Linked DNA regions of Homo sapiens: all the other regions are linked to region 1. The links are contacts of gene promoters, found by promoter capture Hi-C in blood cells and fetal thymus (Javierre and others, 2016). All regions are on one chromosome and are shown on one strand. The core of a region is centred on a gene start or on the middle of the fragment in contact, and the rest is flanking DNA. Distances in the headings are between cores, read along the strand shown.

Region 1 (2,973 bases), core at 185-2,684:
ACCGCTTGCTGCTCTCGGTCCAGTGGCTTCTCCAGCACCAGCTCAGCGAATCGGTTGCCATCCCCCTGGGTCTGCACGTCCAGGGAGAAGTAGCTGTTGGGGGTGATCTCGTAGTCGCGCAAGGAGTTGGTGCCCACGTCTGGGTCGAATGCGCTCTCCAAGGGGAAGCGAGTGCCTGGCGTGGCGCTCTCAGAGATTTCCACCGTCAGGTCTGGCTCCGGGAAAGAGGGGGGGTTGTCATTAATGTCCAGCACCTCGATCTCCACCTGGAACAGCTCCAGGGGGTTCTCCAGAAAGACCTCCAGGTGCAGGACACAGGAGGGGCTCTGTTTGCAGATTTGTTCGCGGTCTATTTTCTCGTTCACGTACAGCACCCCTGTCTCCAGGTTGAGGTCTAAGTAAGGGGTCCTTGAGTTGGGCACCGTCTGAAACCCGCGAGCCGAAAGTTTTGTAATGTCCAGACCCAGATCTTCAGCGATATTCCCCACGAAAGTGCCATGTTCCTGCTCCTCCTGTACCGTGTAGTGAAGCTGGGAAAAGACTCCTTCCACCATCCAGAGCAAGGCAAACAATAATAGCACAATCATCTCCAAAAGGAAAGGAAGTAGCTTCCCGCAGCCAGTCAGCCACCCAATCACCTCCCCCACCACCACGAAACAAAAAAAAATCTGAAAAAATACAAATAAAAGTGCGCTACGTGGGGGCTCCTGTGGCTTTCTGTCTTTAAAAATCTTACTCCTTTTGCTTCATTTTAGAGCTTCCCGCAATCCAGCCTCATTTTTTTTTAAATCTTAGCACAGGAAGGGTGACAGGCGTCCCCTTTCCTCATCTGTAATCTTTCCACTGACTAATTAATAAAATAACAATAATACAATAGTCAGCGTCCTTTATTCCGACAGTCTTGGCGCTGGCAAATCCCAAAGAGGAAATTTCGATATTTCAAGACTGTCCTCGGTTTGTCTTCTTGCTGATGGGAGGAGAACGAGGAGGAGGAAAAAGAGGAGGAGGAGGAGGAAGAAGAAGAAGAGGAAGAGGAGAAGGAAAAGGAGATGCTGTTGGCACCGTTAAACATGCCTCTTAATGTCAACGGCTGGCAAATGCAAAAGGGCTTAAAATCAGCGATATAATTTTGTGCCGGAAAAGCACAGAACGGCTCTGCAGCTTAAAACTTTCATTCTCTTCATTTCTCCGGATGGATGTTCTTCTTGACATTTTTTTCCTCTTTCGCTCTATTTGTATTTTTTGTCTTTCAGAGTCTTGGTTCCCTCTGTCCTCATCTCCACCGTTACTTGCCTCTCTGTAAGTGTAATGAGCAGTTTCTTTTCTGCTGTTTTCTTCCCAAGCCTCTTTCCCTCTAACCTGTCTCTTTTTCCTTCCAGTCCTTCCTTCCTCCTGCTTCAGCCTCTGAGCCTGTGGTCTGGGCTGGCAGTTTCTGAGCTCCGAGCGCTCGGCTTCTCCGTTTTTGCGCAGCGCCCTCATTCTGCCAACCAATCGCCCAGGAGCACCACCCACCGAGCTGCCGATGATTGGCCAAACTGGCCGCCAAACAGACACGTCACGCGGCAGCCGGGCGGGGCGGGACAGAACTCTCGCCCGAGCGGCCGGGGTGAGTGTGAGTGTGAGAGCGAGAACAGCCCCGCAGGTCCCGAGGCGCTGGCTGGGGACAATGCCGCGGAAAGTTCCCAGTCCCCAGCCGCAGGTAATGGGGAGGGAATAGAGAGGTTCCCCTGTTTGCATCAGCAAATGCGAAAACATAATAGCAACAGCTGCGATATCCTCTCCTAGGAGCGGGATTTCCAATGATGCTAACATTCTTTTTCCTTTAAGGTATTTTCCCTAATACGCATCATGGAAATAAATCATCGAGAAGGGAAAAAGTAGCGCAGGGCCCACTAATTGGCAAGGGTTACCTAATTAAGGGACCCTAGCAGAGACTGGCAGGGCATTTTAAAAGTGAGTATTATATGGCATGTGTCAATCTAAAGGTGAGGGGGTCTGACGGGGCCGTGAGGAAAGGCGCGAAGCATACGGAGTAGGGGGTGGAGGTGACTCCTAAAAAGCGGAGGAATTCACGCTAAAGGATGTGGGGATGACAGCGCTTACAGACGGGCAGACGCGTTCGACGTGCTTCTTTCCTCCCAAAATACATATTCACAAAATACTTACCAAGTAGATTAACTCACTCGAGGACCTAGCTTCGAGCCGTGAGCGCGTTCATCAGTGACTGAGGAGTTGATTTGAGCCGCTTCCTACAAGCCCGCCATCCTAACGCCGGGCTCTGGGGCATCCGGCACACAGCACCGCCAAGCGCTGCAAAGCGCCTCTGATATCCCTGCGCCTTGTGCGGCCAAGTGCCACGCAGCGGCTGGGAACACCGGCTATTTTCTATTTTTTTTTTGGCAATTGGAGATCGATCCCTTTACCCACCATGCTAGATTAGACCACTGATTTCTGCCAATCCTGGGGTCAGCCCGCGGGATGAGGACAGTGGGGCGGCGGCGAACGCGGGCGGGGTGGTGGGCAGGGCCCGTGCACACGAGGGGCCCGAGTGTGCACCGCTGCGGGTATCTGCGAACACGTTTGCACATGCACGGTACTTGCATCCATCCTCCCTGGCCCAGGGCTTAGCTCTGTGTAAGCCCCAACGGAGCCTCCCCGAGTTCCGAAGGACGCGCTTGACCAGCTGTGAGTGCCCCTTCCGGAGGCGCAGGGGCAACGCGGCACATCCACATAGCTAGTTCTTGTGAAGTTAAAACACAGCGCGAACTCTTTAATGCTGGAGAGTGGATAGAATGCCAGTTCTCTAAGGAAAGATCTATAAATATATATTTTTAATTAATGGGCCACTAGCAAGGAATTGGTTGTTTATTCACGAAAGAAGCCCCTATTCAATCTCCTTTTTATGCAAAGAGATAGGAAGGTCCTTTGCTGCTTTCTGGTAATGAATGACCCAAGAATACACCACCACAACCT
Region 2 (2,965 bases), core at 224-2,723, 3.8 Mb before region 1:
ATTTTTAATGGCTAATGATGCATGCGTGTTAGTATCTCTTTAAGATATTTTGTCACGTTGATAGGCTCGGTGGTGCTAACAGAATCATCTAGCTATTGGAATTTAGTTTTAAAATCTAAGAGTAATAGAAATAAATCTGCAAAAGCTTGAAGAAATGTTTTGGGTTTTAATTGAATTGCACACATCGTGTTAAATTATCTTCACATATCTTATTATTATTATTATTTCTTTTAATTCCAGCTGTAGAATACTATAGATGAACACTGGGGCTATTTTCTAGAATCAGTAGTAGTATTAATGCATTTGTAGAACATATATCATTTTCACGGTGTCTGAGTAACTTCTGTAAGTCTATACTACTACTTCATGTGGAAAAATTAGAACATATTGCATATGTTGCTTACACTGAAGTCTTCAAGCTTCCCAACAGCCTGAACTAATGAAAATGTTGTGTAGGACGGTTATTACCTTTGTAAATATAGAGTACTTTTTGTTAAAATTCAGAAGCATCCAGTAAGTAATGAATATTACAAAGTAAAGCAAATTAACAAATTCAAATCACTAGTAACACCAATTTAAAGGTAGAGATATGAAAGTTAAAATAATGTTATTTTATTTGTTCTGACTCTAAGTGTCCATAGTCTTAGAACTAAATTGATAAACAAAAACAAGAAAAAAGTATGGCAAATGGAGAGAAAAATGATAAATTGGCTGGGCATGGTGCCTCACACCTGTAATCCCAACACTTTGGGAGGCCAACGTGGGCGGATCACCTGAGGTCGGGAATTTGAGACCAGCCTGACCAACATGGAGAAACCCCGTCTCTACTAAAACTACAAAAATTAGCTGGGCATGGTGGCAGGCGCCTGTAATCCCCACTACCCAGGAGGCTGAGGCAGGAGAATCACTTAAACCCAGGTGGTGGAGGTTACAGTGAGCCAAGATCGCGCGATTGCCCTCCCACCTGGGTGACAAGAGCAAAACTCCCAGTCAAAAAAAAAAAAAGAAAAAAAGAAAAATGATAAATTGTTTGCAACGTTAATAAAACCATTGAAAACACAACTTTTCTGCCCAGGTATATCATGAATTAGTTATAAATAACTTATATACTTCACTCATATTTAAAAGATCAGTTTTTCCCATGTGGTGACACCCATGGCTAACTGGCCTTCCCCATAGCTCTCACTGCAAGTGTGACTCTCATACAGTGAGGAAAATAAGGGCTTCTGGCTGGGACTCTGTCCCTAAAAATAAATGGCTGTAGCTTTTTATCAAAATTCAGAGACTGTTCAGAACATGGTTGTGATAAATAGTATACTTGCTTTTCTTCAAATTGCTTTAGTACCCTATAAATGCACATTAAAAGACGTACCAGTCTGCCTCAAAACAAACAAATAAACAAGTTATAATAACAACAACCACAACAATAACATTTATAGGGTCAAAATATCCAGAACAGAATAACTGATAACAAGGCTGAGTGTTATTGTGCCATCTTCTACTGTCTACTCAATGCCATGCACCATCTTGAGGGTGGGAATATAACGGTAAGCAGACATGTCTTCCACCATCTGCACCATACTTATAACGCAGAGTGGAAATATATCTTACAGTCGCAGGGAAATGCATATTTTAAAATTTAGATATGACAACAAAACACGGGGCTCTTAAGGAATGGAAATAATTTCAGTGATAGTTACTGGATTATGGAGGGAAAATTATACTAGCTTGAGAGCCAAAGTTGGAAAGGAAAACAGGAACCAAACCATGAGGGGACATGTAAGTCAGGTTTCAGAGTATAGACTTTCTCCTTAAAGGAAAGGGAAGCCTTTGAAAAGTTGCAAACAGAGAAGTGCTATAATCAGACGTTTGTCTCCCACGTAAGGCAACTGGGTAAACATTAATATCATTCACTTAAAGAGAGATCAGGCTGGGAGTGGTGGCACACACCAGTAATCCCAGCACTTTGGGAGACTGAGGCAGCAAGATCATTTGAGGCCAATAGTTTGAGACAAGCCTGGGTAACACAGTGAGGCCTCATCTCTACAAAAAAATGTAAAAACAAAAGAGGGATCACTGGAAAAGAGGCAGGTTTGAGACATAATGCATTTAAATGATCAAACATCGAGTGTGATATGTCTATGACTCAAGGGTACATGTCAAATAGGCAATTCAACCTATATATTTAGCAAGCAAGATAGTTGTGTGGTGTGAAATATAGTTTTGTAGCTTTATAGAAGTAAAATTATACTTTAAGATGGAATAAGGGAGCAAAAGAAACAAATGCTACTAAAATGGCACTTGTATGCAAAGAGAAAGGGAAGAAAATATTCAGGTAATTTAGGGTGAATTTGTTCAATGATTCTGGATATTTCCGGCTCAGAGAAATTATGGGGGCAGAAAACTGATAGTAATAACTTAAGGATAAAAAGGAGAGATGACTTATTAGTGTATTTCAAAACATTTAACTTTTTTGTGGAAGAGAGAAAGAACCAAGTGTAATGATGGTTGAGTTAATAAAAGCTTCTTTGAGAGAAAAAGTTTTAATGTTCAAATACTGATGGTCATCAGCCAGGATATGTGTTTTTCTTTCTTTTCCTCCTTCTTTGTCTAAATAAAACAACCTTGAGGAAACCTGAAAGGACAGTGTAAGTTTTTGGGTACATATGTGTTAGAAAAATTGTTGAGTTTTTGTTCTAATTTTAGTTTGGTCTAGGAAAAAAGAGAAACTTTGATCAGATGCAAAGGGTACTTTCCAAAGAAAAGTGAAGCAGTTTCCTAATTTCAGGACACTTTGAGGAGAAGTAAAGGACAATTAACTTTACTTTGAGATTCTTAATGTCAGGACAACCGGACCTCTGGCAATTTTTGCCGTCCAACATTACGGAACATCCCTTCCTTTGTTGTTATATTGTCCCTGATCTCTCAATTTGTACTAGGGAATTTTAATAAAGTCGTCCCAGTT
Region 3 (3,485 bases), core at 426-2,925, 3.6 Mb before region 1:
AAATATTTTGTTACATTTCTTTTTCTTCCCTGCTATTAAACCCCTAATTTTAGCCAGCCAGGGAGATAGATTTGAGACTGAAATCACATCTTCTCAGCTGCAACACCCAATTAAAGCCTTCTTCCTTGGCAATAAGCATTATATTAATGATTGGCTTTCTATGCAGCAAACAGCAGGACCTAGACCAAACCCCTGGTATTTTGGTAACAAAATAAGCAACAGGGGAGCCCCTGGGAAAAGAAGTCCTAAAGATGCTGCCCACTTGTAGACAGGAAAAATGACAATGGCTACTTTGGCTACTTCTGGCCTTGTGAGTGGGCTCCTCCAGCCCTAAAGGATACTTAGGCTGTATCCAGAAATAACCATGGTCGGGATTTTCCCTGCTGATGAGCATGGACCCTAGAGTAACATTTTTCTCGTTATAATAGTAAAAACAGTATTGACTAAATGAATACTATTTACTAGTATTAAAAATCTCTGTCCAGGAGATTTTAAATACTAATAAGATACGTGACATGTTTACTTGCACTAGCATATAGGACCACAGAGCATACATGCCCAAAGGGACCTCCCAAAACATGCTTGCAAGGAACACCCCCTCATGCCCCTTTATGAATAATCATGTAAGATTCTCATAAAAAGAATCCTTCAGCACTAGCTTCTGCTGACTCATTCTTTCAAGCATTAGACTCTGTTTTATCTTTCAGAATGTACTGTCTCTTTAAACGAACCCTGCTACTATCATTTTTCCAGCAGAAACAGCCACGAGCTGTTTTTCAGCAGGATCAGCCCAGCCAGAGCTGTTTGCCACTCTAAAAATGTACTTTATCTCCCTTCAATAAACTATACATCTCTTGGCTGAATTCTTTCTTTCAAGTTAGAGAAGAACTGAGAATCCCCACACTTCCCAGTAAAAGGTAACAGAGACAAAAACTGCAAGTCCTGTTGCCTGGGCAAGTGCAATAGAAAAACCTTTGACCTCTAAAAACACCTGGAATCAAGGAATCCTTCCCTTGGAACCAAGAAGACTGGAATATGACCAGAACCTGAACACCAGAACTCTTTCAGTCACAAGGAAACCCTTAACCTAGAAGATGTGGAGCTAAAATTTACCTCTACATACTTTAAACGGCCAAATTTGAAGCTCTTGAACCAGACTGTGCCAAGTCAAAATTCCTAAATCCTTTCCCTTGCCCTCTAAATCATCAACTTTCCCCAGACCCAAAGTTAGGGAGACAGATTTCAGCCCACTCCCCTCTCCTTGCTGGCAGGTTTTCCTTTAAAGCTTTTCTTTTCTTAAAAGACCCCATGCCATGGTATTGGCTTCTGTGTGCAGGGAGAAACAAGCCTATTCTCTAGGTAACATGGCCAATAGCCTAGCCAACGAAGGGTAATAGGACATTTCCTAAAGGAAGTGACTTTGTATTTTTTCCTATCAAAATATAATTATCATATCTGTTTTTAAGTAGTGAATGCATACATGAACAAAATTTAAAAGATACGCAAGTACATTTCAAAAGTAAATCTACCCCTTACTCACTTCCCTTAGTCATCCTTTCTCTTCTCTAGATACAAACACAGCAATCAGTGTGTCAGGCCCAGGAACTGTTTGTGGAGAGGCATTCCTGAGATAGGGGGAAGGGAAGCAGGCATACATATAAATGTACAGAGCCATGAAAAATGAAGATTTTAGCAATTACAAATAAATATTTCAGAAATTCTTGAGGAAAATGGTATATGTGAGGAGAGAAAGAAAAGCTGGTATGAGAGTAGATTGGAGATAACATATAGCTGTTTTTGAAGGTCTAGAAGCTCTTTTCTATTCTACAGTATTTCAAATGTTTCTCATCATACATACATTTGATATATCTCCTGAACACAACAGGATTAAACCTATCTTAATTGAATATCTATTGAGTACGAGGCATGAGTATAAAAAATATAAGCAAAATATGGACTTTGCCTTTCAGGTATTCATGATTAGTTGAGGCAAATGAAAATATGACACTATATGTTGGTGATAAATAATTAAAAACAAAATCTCCTCCCAACCTGGGAAGCTTCTCTACAACATAAAAGAAAGAACACAGTTGTATTATTGAATAAGCATTAAACCAGATTGTAGGTGTGCTAAGATATCGCAAAACAGAAATAAATCTCATTATTTTATATAGCCAAGCAGATACAATCCATTATGTACATGTTCTCAAGATAAATAATAACTAGTCTTCAAGTGCTAGATAGGACTTGACAGCACTATTTGTTACACATAGTTCATCCTAAATTCACTGGATACTTGGAATGATGTTCTGTGTATTATCCAAAGGAAAAATAAATTATCATATCTTTATAACATAAGATAGTTTTGCAATTTTAAGCTAAATACCTTCTGAAGCTAGGTTTCCACCCACCCACAGAAATTGGGAGATGGGCACTATGTTCTTTGATGATGAAGACATTTCAATGAGATGGTCCCCAGGTCATAGAGTAAGACATTCCCGAGCCTTTCACCAGGCAAGAGGCTTATTTGACATTTAAAAAGATTTACACACATTTTTAAAGACACAAACAAAAATTTCCATCTGCAAGTTTTCTAAAGTAAATGCCCTAAGAAAGGGAGGGGATGGATGTCTCTTCCCGTATTTTCAACAAAGAGAATTGTTTCTTTTCCAATTTGTATTTACCCAGACAATACACTCCTTGTTAGTATAAAATAGTGACACTACAAATTTCTGACTTCATTGCTATTTTCATCTTTCTCTGGACAAGTTGCAGCCCTCTAAATAACCCGAAAGTCGACAGTAACATACAACACAATGCAATTGCCAGAAATCTGATAAAACAACAAAACAAGTACATTTTTAAAAGTCTCTACACTATTGGTTGTAGGAATAAGCTTTGAATTTATCATATAAATAGATAATGGTTACATCAGATTCTTAACTAGTGTGATGGTTAACTTTATGTATCTACTTCAGTGGTCCAGGATATGCCGAAACAGCTGCTTAAACATTATTTCTGAGCATGTTTGTAAGGCTGTTTCTGGAAGAGATGGGTTTATGTTGGACTAAGTAAAGCAGATCCTCCCACCACAATGCAAGGGGGCATCATCCAATCCCTTGAGGGTCTGAATGTTAGGTTGGTGCAATAAAAAGGCAGAGGAAGGCTAGGTGCAGTGGCTCACACCTGTAATCCCAGCACTTTGGGAGGCCGAAGTGGGCAGATCACGAGGTCAGGAGTTTGAGAACAGCCTGGCCAACATAGTGAAACCCCATCTCTACTAAAAATACAAAAACTAGCCAAGCGTGGTGGTGTGCGCCTGTAGTCCCAGCTATTCGGGAGGCTGAGGCACAAGAATCACTTGAATGAGGGAAGAAAGCCAAGACTGCACCATTTCATTCCAGCCCTGGGGGACAGAGTGAGACTCTGTTTCAAAAAAAAAAAAAAAAAGATAGAGGAAGGACAAATTTGCTTCTGTTTGAACT
Region 4 (3,053 bases), core at 44-2,543, 3.8 Mb after region 1:
TGTCTAATCCTGGACCTAAACCTCTCAAGTTTCAGATTGTCATCTGGAAAATGAGAGTTGTACCTGTCACTGACACCAGGAACTTTTTTTTTTTTAACAGCTGTACACTTATGGGTCCTAGGGTAATTGAAACATAGGAGAAACCTATGACCCAAAATCTTAGAAAATGATATAGTCATGAATACTAACTAGACATCGTGGGAGCAGTTCATGGGAAGCTCCCACCTGTCTCAAACAAGGGACAAGCTGACCTAGACGTATGAAGGGACTCACTGGAAAACCAATGGTTTCTACCTCAAGATCAAGCATTCAGCTCCAGATGTGTCAATGGGAATCATCTTCTGCACAGCAAGAAACATCTCAACCAAATGTATGATGTTTACTTCCCAGTGAGGTATTTTCCCTGATTTCAGTCAGCTTCCCACCAATATATGACTCTCATCCAGTGCTCTTTTTCTCACAGTCTCACTATCTCCTAATGAAAGTAAGTGAAATGTGATGGATACATCTATTTCCTACTCATCACATGGACAGATGCTTCTTGCAGTATAGCACAGCAATCTAGAGCTAGCCTGCTTTCCACAGACTGAAACCCATTCAAGACTTTCTTTACTTACCTCATTCTTATGACTCCCAAAGACACCTTCCTTACAAGATCATTGTAAAGATCAAAGAGAAAATGGATATAAAACATCCAGCACACAGTTGACACTGAACAAATGTCATTTGTTAGTTTCAGGTTCAAATCTTGGTGCCACTTACAAACTATAGGGCAAGCTTCTTCATCTGTAACCCACACGAATAATATCTACCTTGAAGAGTTGTTATAAAGATTAAATAATAAAACAGGATAGCATATATGAGCATTCTACTCACTTACAATGGCTTCCTTCTTTCTAGTTCTACTCCTCCAAAAAAGCATAATGCCATGGAATTTTGGAAGGAATAAAAAGGAGGTAAACAATTGGTTCTCAGAGCAACTGGTTCCAGGGCAGGGTCTGGGGTCAAACTGTCTGAGTTCAAACCACAACTCTCCCAGCTCTGTAACTTTGGGCAAGTTGTTCAATTCCTCTGTGCTTCAATTTCCTCATCTGTAAAAGGGCATAGCAATAGTATCTACATCATACAGGTAGTTGTAGGATTCAACCAATTGATACATACAAAGTACTTAGAACAGGACTCAGCACTTAATAAGTGTTCAATAAATATTACCTAGTATTGGCCAGGAGTGGTGGCTCACGCCTGTAGTCCCAGCACTTAGGGAGGCCCAGGCGGGCAGATCGTGAGGTCAAGAGATTGAGACCATCCTGGCCAACATGGTGAAACCCTGTCTCTACTAAATATACAAAACTTAGCTGGGCATGGTGGCATGCACCTGTAGTCCCAGCTACTCAGGAGGCTGAGGCAGGAAAATCACTTGAACCTGGGAGGCGGAGGTTGCAGTGAGCCGAGATCACGCCACTGCACTCCAGCCTGGCAACAGAGTGAGACTCCGTCTCAAAATAAATAAATAAATAAATAATAAATAAATAAATAAAGTTACCTAGTATTATTATTTGTTTGACAATTCTCCTTTAGACTTTAAACCATAGCAAAAAGAATCAGGGCGTACATAGTCCCTATAGGGGAGAGGTTATTTGTGCTCTTCTCAATTGTTGTGGGTGGAATCACTGTCAGCTGTGGCATTCCTAGGTTCATCTGCTTTCATACCTCCTGAATACTGTATGAAAATAAAAACTAATTCTGCTACCATAAAAAGGACACTTAGTGGCATTGACTTTGAAAGTTTGCTATAATCACTCAAGCTTCTTTTTGCTGTTAAAAGAGAAACAAGGTTTAAAAAGATTCTGTGTTTCAAAACAAATAACTCTAGGCAAACATTATTGCTAAATAACTGGTTATATACTGCCCCAAGAAAAGAACAGTTTCAAAAACTTGATATGGAGAACACAATCCAAACTTGTGTGTGTGTGTGTGTGTGCGCGCGTGTGCGTGCACACACCCTCACTCAAGCAAGCACATGCACATAGATACACATACATTATTTGCCTTTGTGTCTCTGGAAAAGATGGAAATGGTCTGAAATCAAGCAAAACAGATGGCTGAGTGGGCTTGTGAATCGCCTATATCTCAAGGAAGTTAAGAAGTCATTGCAGCAGTTTTTAAGGAGAAATATGTAAGTTTTTAGAAAGTTTTCATACTGTCTTGTCTATCGCTATGCAGCTTAGAATATGTACTTTTGAGATTACTAAAGAGTAGGACTCTGAGGACGCCTTAAAATCTGAGTGAAATAGTGCAAGAGCTTCTGTTCTGGATACTCTTCTTTATAAACCAGAAATATATTGGTGCTCTAACATAATTGGATACAGATGTGCTTTGCATCACTCACTAGTTATGTTTCTGAAAGAGTTTTACAAAAGTTGAAGAAAAATAATTTTGTGCTCACCAGAAGTGCTTACTGTTCTTAAAGGAATTTTATGTTTAAGCCTTTTATAAAGCAGTGAATCTTTTGTGAATATTCTTATCCTGTAAGTGTAAATAATCATTATTTTTTACACGGTGCACTGTCCTGTACATGTGTCAGAAAGATTGAGCCATATGGGCAGCACCTTAGTACGACCAGCCTCATCTCTCTCATCCCACCTGCCCCCTCACCTCCTCACCTCCCATCTCCTCTCCTACACACAAACACCAGATGAGTCTCCCTGACATGTTATTTTACAAAGATTTTTAACTGGCGATGAGGGCCTTTTATAAGTTTACCCCCAAACCTGTAAGAGCTTTGAAAGTGCTTGGTCATCTGGCTTGATCTTTCACTCCTTAGATCTTTTCTGCATGGAATTTTGGCATCCCAATCAATTCCGATCTTTGTCCCCTAGACTTTTTTGTATTCTAGCCCACACTTTTTCTTTGAAATTTTCTCTGACACACATCACCTACCTCATACCTTACCCCAACACACACATAGTAATTTTTTCCATTCTGTGAATACCCATGGTTTTCTTTCATTTGAATTCCCTTAAATTCTTTCTCATAGGATAAATATATTTACA
Region 5 (3,114 bases), core at 608-3,107, 3.7 Mb before region 1:
ACTAAAAATATAAATATTAAAGATTAGCCAGGTGTGGTGGTGCACACCTGTAATCTAAGTTACTTGGGAGACTGAGGCAGGAGAATCGCTTGAACTCAGGAGGCAGAGGTTGCATTGAGCCAAGATGGCACCACTGCACTCCAGACTGGGCAACAGAGCAAGACTACGTCTCAAAAAAAAAAAAAGAAAGAAAGAAAGAAAGTTTGCCATAGCTACGAACTCTTACAGATCAAGAAGGACACCATTAAATCCTTTTTGTTAGAAACCATAATTGTCTACATTATTGTTATAGTCTAATTATCTAAATCAGCATATTTTAGGCAAATGAGTATGAATGAATGAAATCCTTTGATTCAGCTTTTAATATCGGAAAGTGAGACAATGAATTATTTGCAATGACATTTCCATCCTGATATAGAAAAACAAAAAGTGTGACAAAAGCGATGGATCATGTATAGCAAAACTTGGAAGACAATGCCACTAATGGACATTATTGATTTGTGTCTGGTCCATTTGCAGGACAGAAAGACCTGTCATATAGGAAATTAGTGCTAATTTCCTATATGACAGGAAGAGTTTCCTGTAAGAGATACCTTTTCAAATTTGAAAATAGTGTTTCTATTTTAAAAAATTATTTTTTGTGTGTGTTTTAAAAAAAATATGTTCCGGTGTTAAATTTTGGCAAATTATCTTTTTTCAAATTTAAGTTGATTACTAAGGGGGAAATGTGTTAATCTGTGCTATTCTAAAGAAGGAAAAATATAGAATTAAATTTTGAATGGGAGAAGCACAGGTGATTTTTTGTGCTCTCAATCTTAAAAGACATCTTGAGAAAAATTATTTTTTTATCTTCTGCTATGTTTAAAGCAAAAGATAAATTAGAAAATTCTAGGAAATGGAGTTATGGTATTATTAAGAGAGTTTGAAAAGGAAGTTGAAAAAAAATCTGAAATACTATATTCAGGCATTTGAGTCAAAGTTTAAGAATGAGAGAAGACAATGTATGAATATTAATTCCAAGCTAATTGGGATACAGTTCAAATAAACACAGCAATAGGGATTGGCATATGATAATTAGATAAAAAAATTTAGATGTGCTTGCCTATTAAATCTGCCAGATTATTTTTCAACTGCTTTGTTGATAAAGTGCCTCTCACTATATGCCAAGCACTGTTTTAAATGTTCGAAATAGTTTGATGAAGGAAACACACCGACTTCCTGCCCTCCTGAAGCTGACAGTTCTTGCCTGGAAAGCTTACACTCAAGCAACAAGTCCCTATTAAAGTGCCAGTGACTGAAGATCTCCTAAGCTCTCCAATATGATATTACTGGCTCAGTCTCCCGTACTATCAAGTAATGTTAATTCTTCTACATAGCATTTGCAATTCTTGATAAAGATCAACCTATTTGCAGCATTTGTCTTTGCACATTCTAGGTACTTAAAAACGCCAAGTCTCAGATGAAAACAGGAATGAAATCTTGAACATATTCTAAGTTCCTTATGGAAATGGGTTAGCCTACTGCCTGGATGTGAAATCATATCAGGAACTTAACATTTCACAACAGAATGTCAATTCAGCTGCCTGAGTGTGTGAAATGTAAAACATATGGATCGTTTTATCAACAACACAAAATATTGGCATTTCAGACACTCATTAAAAATGTCAATCATAAATTAACTGTGATGCCAAAAACTTGCTTGAGACATCTGATATTTGAGAGATAGAATTTAAAAGATATATGAAGCATCCATTTCTCTAGTCAGGAAATCATGAAACTGAAGCTGAGATTTGCATTTAGTTTTCCAAATTACATGACTTGACGGAATTGAGAGTTTATTCTTCCCCTTACACCATTACGTCCATGCTTTCAGAGAATAAAATTTGATGGTTTAATGACTGCATTCACTTACTTATAAATATTTATAGAGTTAGTGCCACAATTATGCCAAGTATAAATATAAAGGACATATAAGATAATAAACTTGCTTTTTTAAAAAAAACAGAAAGGTGTTATAGTCAAGGACCTCTCTGTCCTCTTAACATGAGTTTACATTCCTCCTTTCTTACTCTTAAGCTATATCCTCTTAGGCAAATTTTATTATCTTTCAAAACACCAATGTTTTTATTTGTAAATTAGATTTTGATAGCATGTGCCTGTGTCATACAGCTCTTGCAACAATAAAAAATTATGATATTTTTAAGAGCTTAGCACTGCACTTGTGTGGTAAACAGCTGTTATGTTTATGCTCGCTAAGTTCTAATTATTGTTAAAGATACTATTTTACTTTTTATTTTAGGTAATTATAATTAACATGTAGTTTGAAGAAGTAAGTTAGAGAAATTCTGTATAACCATCACCCAGTTCACCCAGTTTTCCCCATTGTGACATCTTGTATAACTATAGTACACAGTAATATCACAAGCAGGAAATTGGCATGGCTACAGTCACTAAAGCTTATTCAGAATTCACCAGTGTGTATATTTAGTGCTAAAACATTTTATCTTACATTTGTGTGACCATCACCACAGTCAAGACACAGGATAGTTCTATCACAGGGCTTCTGCTTGTTACTCTTTTATAGTGACAGCTATCCTCCTCCCTTACTCTGCCTCTAACACTTGACAATCACTAATCTCTTCTCTATCTCTATAATTTTAAGATTGTTATATAAATGCAATCATATACAACCTTTGGAGACTATTTTTTCGCTCAGAATAGTTTCCTTAAAATCCATTCAAATTTTCCTTTTTGAGACTAATATTCCGTAGTATGGATGGACTACAGTGTATTTAACGTATTTATCCATTGAATGACATATTTGTTGTTTCTGTATTTGGAGTATTAAACTTAAAGCTGCAGTGAACATTGGTGTACAGATTTTCAGGTGAGCATGTTTTCATTTCTCTTGGAAGAATGATCAAGAATACAATTGATTTGTCATATGGTATGTGGACATTTTTTAACTGTTACATATAATTTTGGGAATGGCTGTCTTTACTTTACACTCCAACCAACAGTGTATCACAGCTCTAGGCCTTCCACATCCTAGATAGCATCTGATGCAATCACTATTTTATATTTCAACCATTTTAATAGGTGTGAAGTAAATAT
Region 6 (3,301 bases), core at 216-2,715, 3.7 Mb before region 1:
ATAGAAAGATTATTATAGAAAAATTTATTTAGTTTTTTGTTGCTTTTTATTTTTAAAATAATAGATAAGAAAAGGAAGCTATTTTCATTAAGGCATACAACTGAAAAGTTCTTTAAAGGGTGATTTTGATAAACATTTGTGAGAAAATGCAAAAAAACCGCACAAAACTAGGAACAATCTCACTACATTTTGAGAAAGTGATTAATAGCTGCTAGTTACATTCCTTTAAAAAAAATTCTTTTTGACCAGCAATCAAAGACTTCTGAAATCAGATTTTGTTCTTTCTGGTATATTTCACGTTTGAATACAAATACACATATACTTTTATATTGCTTGCCAAGAATAACATCAAAATAAAAATGATTTGCTTTCTGCATTTTTTTTCTCAAGGCAAGACATGTTGTTATCATTTTTCTGTGTAATACCCGGACATAAAACTCTGAGTGTAGAAATGATCACATTTCTTTTTGAATATCCAATTATGTGGTTGAAATAAAACTATTATTTTCTTAGAAATATATGTGACAAAAGGGTCTTAAAAACACAGGGGCTTGAGAAAATTTAAAAAAAAGAATATAGTGAAGTATAGGCCTGTATCATTACATATCACTTGTGTCATTACACTACATTTTAAGTGCCATTAAAATGATTAAAAATGTGAAACTGATTTCTTGTTATGGTTGTTTTAAAGCATCTGTTCTCTTTTTAACAATTTTGGTGTGAGTATGTGTTTATGGGCCTTATAAGGCAGCATCTCACAAATCAGCATCTGCATGTTCTAGGGACCTACTCTGGGCTTCCTCTAGTATCTAAATGTAGAAGGATCCAGTCAAAAGTTAAGATATTCACACCAACATGGCACATGTATACATATGTAACAAAACTGCTCGTTGTGTACATGTACCCTAGAACTTAAAGTGTAATTTAAAAAAATACTTTCTATTAAAAAAAAAACAAAGTCAAAGTATTCTCCTATGCTGCCCCTGGTACTAGATTGTAATTAGCACACAGATCCATCAAGCATATGTACCTGTCTTTTCAAATACACAAAGTAGATACATTTTAACATGAAATATTTTAAAGTTAAAAACAATTTGTAAAATTATCTATACTATAGAAAATAATATATACTATGCTGTGACATTTTATGCATTTTTATTTACATGTAAATAAAATTTTTACATACATACAAATTTTTACATACATACAAAAATTACACTATGTTTTTGACATTAACTTGCAATTCCTCCTCCTTAAAGGTTGGTGTAGCTCTTACTGGGTATGATTTGATGCACTATTGTTATAGTGTTTTTCAGTCTCTCCACTACTTTCATCTCCTGCTAATCTTTTCACATGTCCTCATGCCAACCTACATCTCTGTCTTTGTGCCAGAATGATTACTTCTGTTAAGTTTAACTGTATTCACTTAGAATAAAGACATTAAAACATTTTCCCCGTAGAGATTTTAAGCCATATGTTTTTAAAAGTGTTTTGGGTGTACGCTGTATGCTGAAAACCATTAGCAAATTTTAAAATCATTACTATTACCATTTTCTTCAACTCATCTAAATTGACTTGCTTCAATAACAAAGATATTGAATTAAAAATAAGTACCTAAAATGTTATGAAACCAATAATATTTATAGGATAGCTATTCAAAGCCTACCAATAAGATAAGAACTACATAAGGATAAAAAACAAACAAACAAACAAACAAACCAAAAACCTCTTTCAGGTCTTCTCAAGAAACAAAATTAACTGATACTGCAGTATTTTAACAAAACTATTCTAGGGACTAAAATAATTATGTATCATCCAAGAGAAAGAAAAATAGGCCATACTTTGTTTCCTTAAATACAAGGGCTTCAAATAAAACAGTATTTGAGTTGCTTCTTCTCTTTGTAGAGCCTAGTAGCTGATGTTATTTCTTTTCTTTACCTGTATTTTTAAAAAGACATATTTACTTAGCCATTTCATCTCTTTATTTGTTATTGCATGGGTGATTGATTGATGGTTAGTGACATTGCATAAATCTCAGCTTATGTCAAACTGTGGCAAAGTGAAATGGGAGGAAACTTGTCATCATTATTTGACCTTTACTTTAATGCAACTCTTATCAACTGCCACTTAGCTTTGGGAATATACTGAGCAATGCAGTGCCTGCCCTCTAATTATATTTTTTAAAAATAGAGTACTCTGTTTACATACTAAATGTTAGTCTACAAGTCATAGTTATTGTTAATATTGCTGTATCTACCTGTGACTTTAGAAAATAATTATCCTTGTTCGTGAGTTTTTCCATGTGTAATAATGATTTTCACATTACTACTGTATAAATTGAGCAATATAGTTTGACTCACTCTTGGTTAAAATAGTAAAAAAAAATGCCTAGAAACAGCCAATATGATATAAAAATGACTTGCCAGTTGGCCTAAGCTCAAAATGACAAATGTTTTACCTATCACATGTAAAAATATTGTTGGTAGAAGTATACTCAATTAGATTCATTCATTAATTTTTAAGCAATTTAAAGATATTGACACATTGCAATGTTTTGGAAAAGAAGTCATCATTGGGTTAATTTTGTGGTTAGGAGTACTATTTGAGTATTTAATATATATAAATATATTTAGTTTATATTATTCGTAATATTTAGTAAGAATTGATGCCATATTTGGATGCTGACATTTTAAAGATTAAATCTAACCAAATCACATGCTCTCTACCTAGAGGCATTAATGTAATTTGATTAAAATATTTATCCAATTTATTTTTATGCAAATAAATAATACTTAAGATAGTTACTAAAAAGAATTATTTTTCAAAATTATTGTGAATCTTTAACTTATATGTTTATTTTGAAAGTGGTAAATATAGACATGTTTATTTAAAATAGGAAAATTAAAAATTTATCTCATATATGTTATGTTACCTAGGACCAAATTGCTTTTCTCACTTTAAAGAATAATTAAATTACAGAAAAAGACATGAGACAAATTTTTTTAAAGAAAGCTTGTGATTTTGAGAAAAGGAGAACAAACAAAGTTAGCACAACTTTCACTTAGGCTTTCTGGCTGGGGAAACCTTTTTCACCAAAGTACAATAAATTGGACTCCAATGAAAGTACAGCAGCCTCACTGAGCTGAAGACAAATGGAGTTCAGGCAACTTAAGTGGTTGAAATTTTAGTAGGGCAGGTTACTGGAAATGAGGGAGTGCTGAGAGTGAGATCTCAAAATTTGCAGGGGGTTCCATATGTTCGTGACTTGAAGATAATTTGCACATGTGGAGATTCCTCTGGA
Region 7 (3,460 bases), core at 695-3,194, 3.8 Mb after region 1:
GAACTACATCAGCCCACCGAAAGGCTTTCTCCATCCTACGGATGAGCAGTTCTCTCTTGGGAAACACCATCAATCGTTCTCATTATGTACTAAATGAAGGGCAGACTCCTCTGCTGAGCCTTCCAGACCTTGCAGAGTCTGTTTCCATTTCTGGTCTCATGACTTGCTGTGGGTCCACACTCAGCCTGGACTTCAACCAGCTGGCTCATAAGCAAACCCTGCATTTTTCCCTTCTGCTTTCTTTTACTTTGGGTGTTTTATTCCCATTCTTTGTCTCAGGATCCCACATCAAAATTCCCCCCATCCTTTGAAACTCAATTCCACCCTGCCTCTATCAAGAAATCTTCCTCTAAGTGTCCCACCTTTGTCTCTGGGGAAAATGACTCTCACAGTCCTTTGAGTGGGTAGAGCACAGGCTATGGATTCAGACAAATTTGAGTTTGAATTCAGTCTGTGTGCCATTAGAAAAGTTACTTACCCTTTCTGGGTCTCAGTTTTTTCATCTAGGACAGATGGCACCTTTCAGGAATATTGTAAGTGTTGTCCAGCGTGTGAGCAGTAGTCAATAAATGGCCACTTCTTTCTTTAAATGTTTTTCCCCCAGGATTCATCACATACTATCTCATTCTGTGACTGCTTAGATACATGTCTGAGCTCCTCTATTAGATAATACTGCTCAAATATTAACATATTGTAGAGGCCACCCATGACTTCAAATGTCAGCCACACCATTGTTCTTTTCCTCTTACTTTGCTTTTCTGCTTCATAGTGATGGTCACTGTCTGGCACTGCTCATTTTTTTGTTTGGCATCTAATTTCTCACTATATGAGCGCTCCATATGAGCAGGGGCTTTTACTATGTTGCTTACTAATGTATCACCAGTACCTAGGATAGTGCCCAGCAAATAGTAGGTGTCAATAATATTTGGCAGATTAATGAAGAATAAGCCCCTTGAGATCAGTGATAATTTCTTAATGATTATAAAACTTCAAGGCTGGAAGGGACATTTAAATCCCCTTATTAACTACAGTGCTTCTAGGACAACAATACACACAGTAGCGATCCTACCTTCTAATAGAAGGAGTAGCTCATAATTCCCTTGATGTTCCATCTCTTGAGCATCTCCCTCACATTGAGTCATCATTCCCAATGCCTAGACTTTCCCCTTCCTGCTGCTTATCTGCCTGATGAATTCCTATTCTCTCCTGGAGACCCTGTGTGACATAATGGCAGGAGCAGGAGCTGTGCAGGCATACAGAACTGGGTTTGATGGGCACATTCGCTGGGTAAACTTGCACACTTCATTTGGCTTCTGGGGGCCTCAATTGTCTTATTTATGAAGTAGGGATAGCAGAGGTGTGAGGGTAAAAGACGTCATCCATGGATTGCCCATTAGGCATCCTCATGGCAGGTTTTGTTTCATTTGAAAATGAAACAAAAACAAAACAAAAAGCTTTGCTGTTCCTTTCTCTGTGAATCTTTCTCTAACTCTGACAAGAAAAATTGATCACACCCTTTCTACATATTTTGATGAATCTTAGAAATTTCTACTCTATCAATAACCATATTACATTGGTACCACTTGGTTTCAAGTCTGTTTTTCCCACATGAATTGAGCTTAAGGACAGAAGTTACTACTTGACTGACCTTGGTAGCCCCAATCTCTAGCGCCACACCTGGCACAGAATAGACAGTCAATACATACTTGTTTATTAAATAAGTGAATCTATGAGAGTTGTACCTGGACTGTGAGGCTCAATGCCTTTGCTATTTCCCTAAATTATATTTCCTCATTGAAAAATTACTCTTACACATCACCTCTAAATTTGTGGCCTTTCCCACCTACCTTTCTTTCCTTAGGTCAATTAATATAGTCTTGGTGGCTCTCCCTATTGAGCTACAAAGTATTGCATGAATTGCCCTCTAATGTCCAGTTTCTTTCTATTAGCTTTCTTTGTCTAATTCAGTTTATGTACTCGTTCACTCATTCATTTATTCATTCATTTATCCACTCAGCATGCATGTATTGAACAAGGTGCAAAACAAGGTCCAAAACTCTTTGCTAGCTGGGTCAACAAGCACATCACATAGCTCTGGCTAAGCTGTGATTATCTTTTGTTTTTAAAAAATCAACATAGACAAAAATTCCATAGCACAACGTCCAGCAAGAATGAGTCTGTAATGCCAATTACCTGTACCTTTGCACATGCAGAATGAAGTCATTCTTAGTTTCCCTGGACATAGTTTAAAAAAAAAAAACGTAGTCAATATGTTTTCTGATTTCCAATTAATTTTCTAAGATTGGTAAATCTATATTTATATATTGATGAGCAGCACTAGGAAATAAAAGTCAGTTGCATATGGTATTATACTTTTAAATGGCACTATCATAGGTATTATAGCCAGTCCTTTTAAATCTAAATCTAAGCTTTTAGCGTATGATAAACTAAGCAGAGTTAAAGCAAAGAAAATGATTCATTTTCGTGCAGATCTTCCTATCTATTAGATTATCATTCCCTCCCAAAAAAAAGAGACAGATGTCACCCTGACCAGGCTTTCTAAAGAACAAAAGAATTTACAGGTTTGATGGTGCAAATGAAACTCGAAACTATCATAAAAGATGAAAATGCCCTCTCCACATAAGAAAGCAAATTGAAAATAACATCGAGCAAAAGGGCACAAGAGGAACAAGCTCTCATTATTAGATACTGCAAGTCAGAAAGCCTAAGAGCTTCCCTAGGCACAGCCCGTCACTCAGTCTGTACATCTGTAGAATGGAGATAAACAACAGCTCCTTTTCTTGTCACAGAGGTGGTAGGATTAATAAAACCAAGCTAGGAATGCATTTCAAAATGCACAGATGAAGTATAATAGAAATCAAGGGTAAAGACTGCTATTCAGAAATGCTCTTTCAAATATTCCTCATACTTGGGCAGATTTCTCTAGATGCTCAAGGCTTTGTCCACACGTGTAAGATTTTCAAAGGCCTCTGTGGCAAAAAAAAAAAAAAAAAAAAAAAAAAAAAAAAAAAAATTCATTGTTTGAATTGTAGAACAGAATAAGACCTCAAACCTTTGCTGACTGTCCAGAGTGTTGTTTCAGATGCCATATAATAAACAAAACAAAAAGGTAAGAGTCTCTTCAGACTAACATCACAGAAGCTAGAGGAAGGAACAAGAGTGCTGGATTAAAATATAGCAATCATAAATTCTATTTTGATTTCCTATTTCTTATTGCTGTCCTTGGAAAATCATTTACCTCTCCTCTCCCTCTGCAGTGGGTAGAGAACTGGGCTAGGTTTAGGATGCCTGGGTTAACACCTAGATTCAGCCATGCAAAGGCTCTGCACCCTCATTTTTAAAATATACACTGTGATTCCTATACTACAGACTGTTAAAGAGATGACAAAAATTATCATAAAAATACTGTCAACGGCAAGCATTCAATGTAAGAGGCTAT

Evidence for each region. Contacts are between HindIII fragments. The CHiCAGO score rates a contact against its expected background, and 5 or more counts as called.
Region 2: a fragment that was not itself captured here is called in contact with the fragment with the promoter of PCDH10 in region 1 in 3 of 17 cell types (endothelial precursors, M2 macrophages and M0 macrophages); the score reaches 7.9 in endothelial precursors.
Region 3: a fragment that was not itself captured here is called in contact with the fragment with the promoter of PCDH10 in region 1 in 1 of 17 cell types (endothelial precursors); the score reaches 7.7 in endothelial precursors.
Region 4: a contact is called between a fragment that was not itself captured here and the fragment with the promoter of PCDH10 in region 1, in 1 of 17 cell types (M2 macrophages). The highest score is 5.7, in M2 macrophages.
Region 5: a contact is called between a fragment that was not itself captured here and the fragment with the promoter of PCDH10 in region 1, in 4 of 17 cell types (M1 macrophages, endothelial precursors, M2 macrophages and 1 more). The highest score is 16.1, in M1 macrophages.
Region 6: a fragment that was not itself captured here is called in contact with the fragment with the promoter of PCDH10 in region 1 in 6 of 17 cell types (endothelial precursors, M2 macrophages, M0 macrophages and 3 more); the score reaches 30.6 in endothelial precursors.
Region 7: a contact is called between a fragment that was not itself captured here and the fragment with the promoter of PCDH10 in region 1, in 1 of 17 cell types (endothelial precursors). The highest score is 7.1, in endothelial precursors.

Annotation. Positions count from the first base shown.
Region 1 is chr4:133,147,755-133,150,727 of GRCh38, reverse strand. It overlaps PCDH10 (protocadherin 10), which reads right to left and starts at 1,434. Exons shown (of 5, transcript NM_032961.3): 1 at 1-1,434. The coding sequence starts at 587. PCDH10-DT (PCDH10 divergent transcript) reads left to right here and starts at 1,612. Exons shown (of 9, transcript NR_125885.1): 1 at 1,612-1,699. RefSeq lists a silencer at 1,381-1,520 and an enhancer at 1,631-1,690. The HindIII fragment of the contact is 9,721 bases long and covers 1-2,973 here.
Region 2 is chr4:136,901,863-136,904,827 of GRCh38, reverse strand. The region is part of intron 3 of LINC02511 (long intergenic non-protein coding RNA 2511); the gene reads left to right. Among named protein-coding and RNA genes, the nearest start is that of LINC02510, 290 kb to the left of the region's middle. The HindIII fragment of the contact is 2,104 bases long and covers 422-2,525 here.
Region 3 is chr4:136,739,739-136,743,223 of GRCh38, reverse strand. No RefSeq gene overlaps it. Among named protein-coding and RNA genes, the nearest start is that of LINC02510, 450 kb to the left of the region's middle. The HindIII fragment of the contact is 775 bases long and covers 1,288-2,062 here.
Region 4 is chr4:129,371,447-129,374,499 of GRCh38, reverse strand. All of the region lies in intron 2 of LOC105377417 (a long non-coding RNA gene), which reads left to right. Among named protein-coding and RNA genes, the nearest start is that of C4orf33, 280 kb to the right of the region's middle. The HindIII fragment of the contact is 1,028 bases long and covers 780-1,807 here.
Region 5 is chr4:136,880,346-136,883,459 of GRCh38, reverse strand. The region is part of intron 3 of LINC02511 (long intergenic non-protein coding RNA 2511); the gene reads left to right. Among named protein-coding and RNA genes, the nearest start is that of LINC02510, 310 kb to the left of the region's middle. The HindIII fragment of the contact is 1,202 bases long and covers 1,257-2,458 here.
Region 6 is chr4:136,857,843-136,861,143 of GRCh38, reverse strand. The region is part of intron 3 of LINC02511 (long intergenic non-protein coding RNA 2511); the gene reads left to right. Among named protein-coding and RNA genes, the nearest start is that of LINC02510, 330 kb to the left of the region's middle. The HindIII fragment of the contact is 3,099 bases long and covers 1-3,014 here.
Region 7 is chr4:129,351,902-129,355,361 of GRCh38, reverse strand. No RefSeq gene overlaps it. Among named protein-coding and RNA genes, the nearest start is that of C4orf33, 260 kb to the right of the region's middle. The HindIII fragment of the contact is 975 bases long and covers 1,457-2,431 here.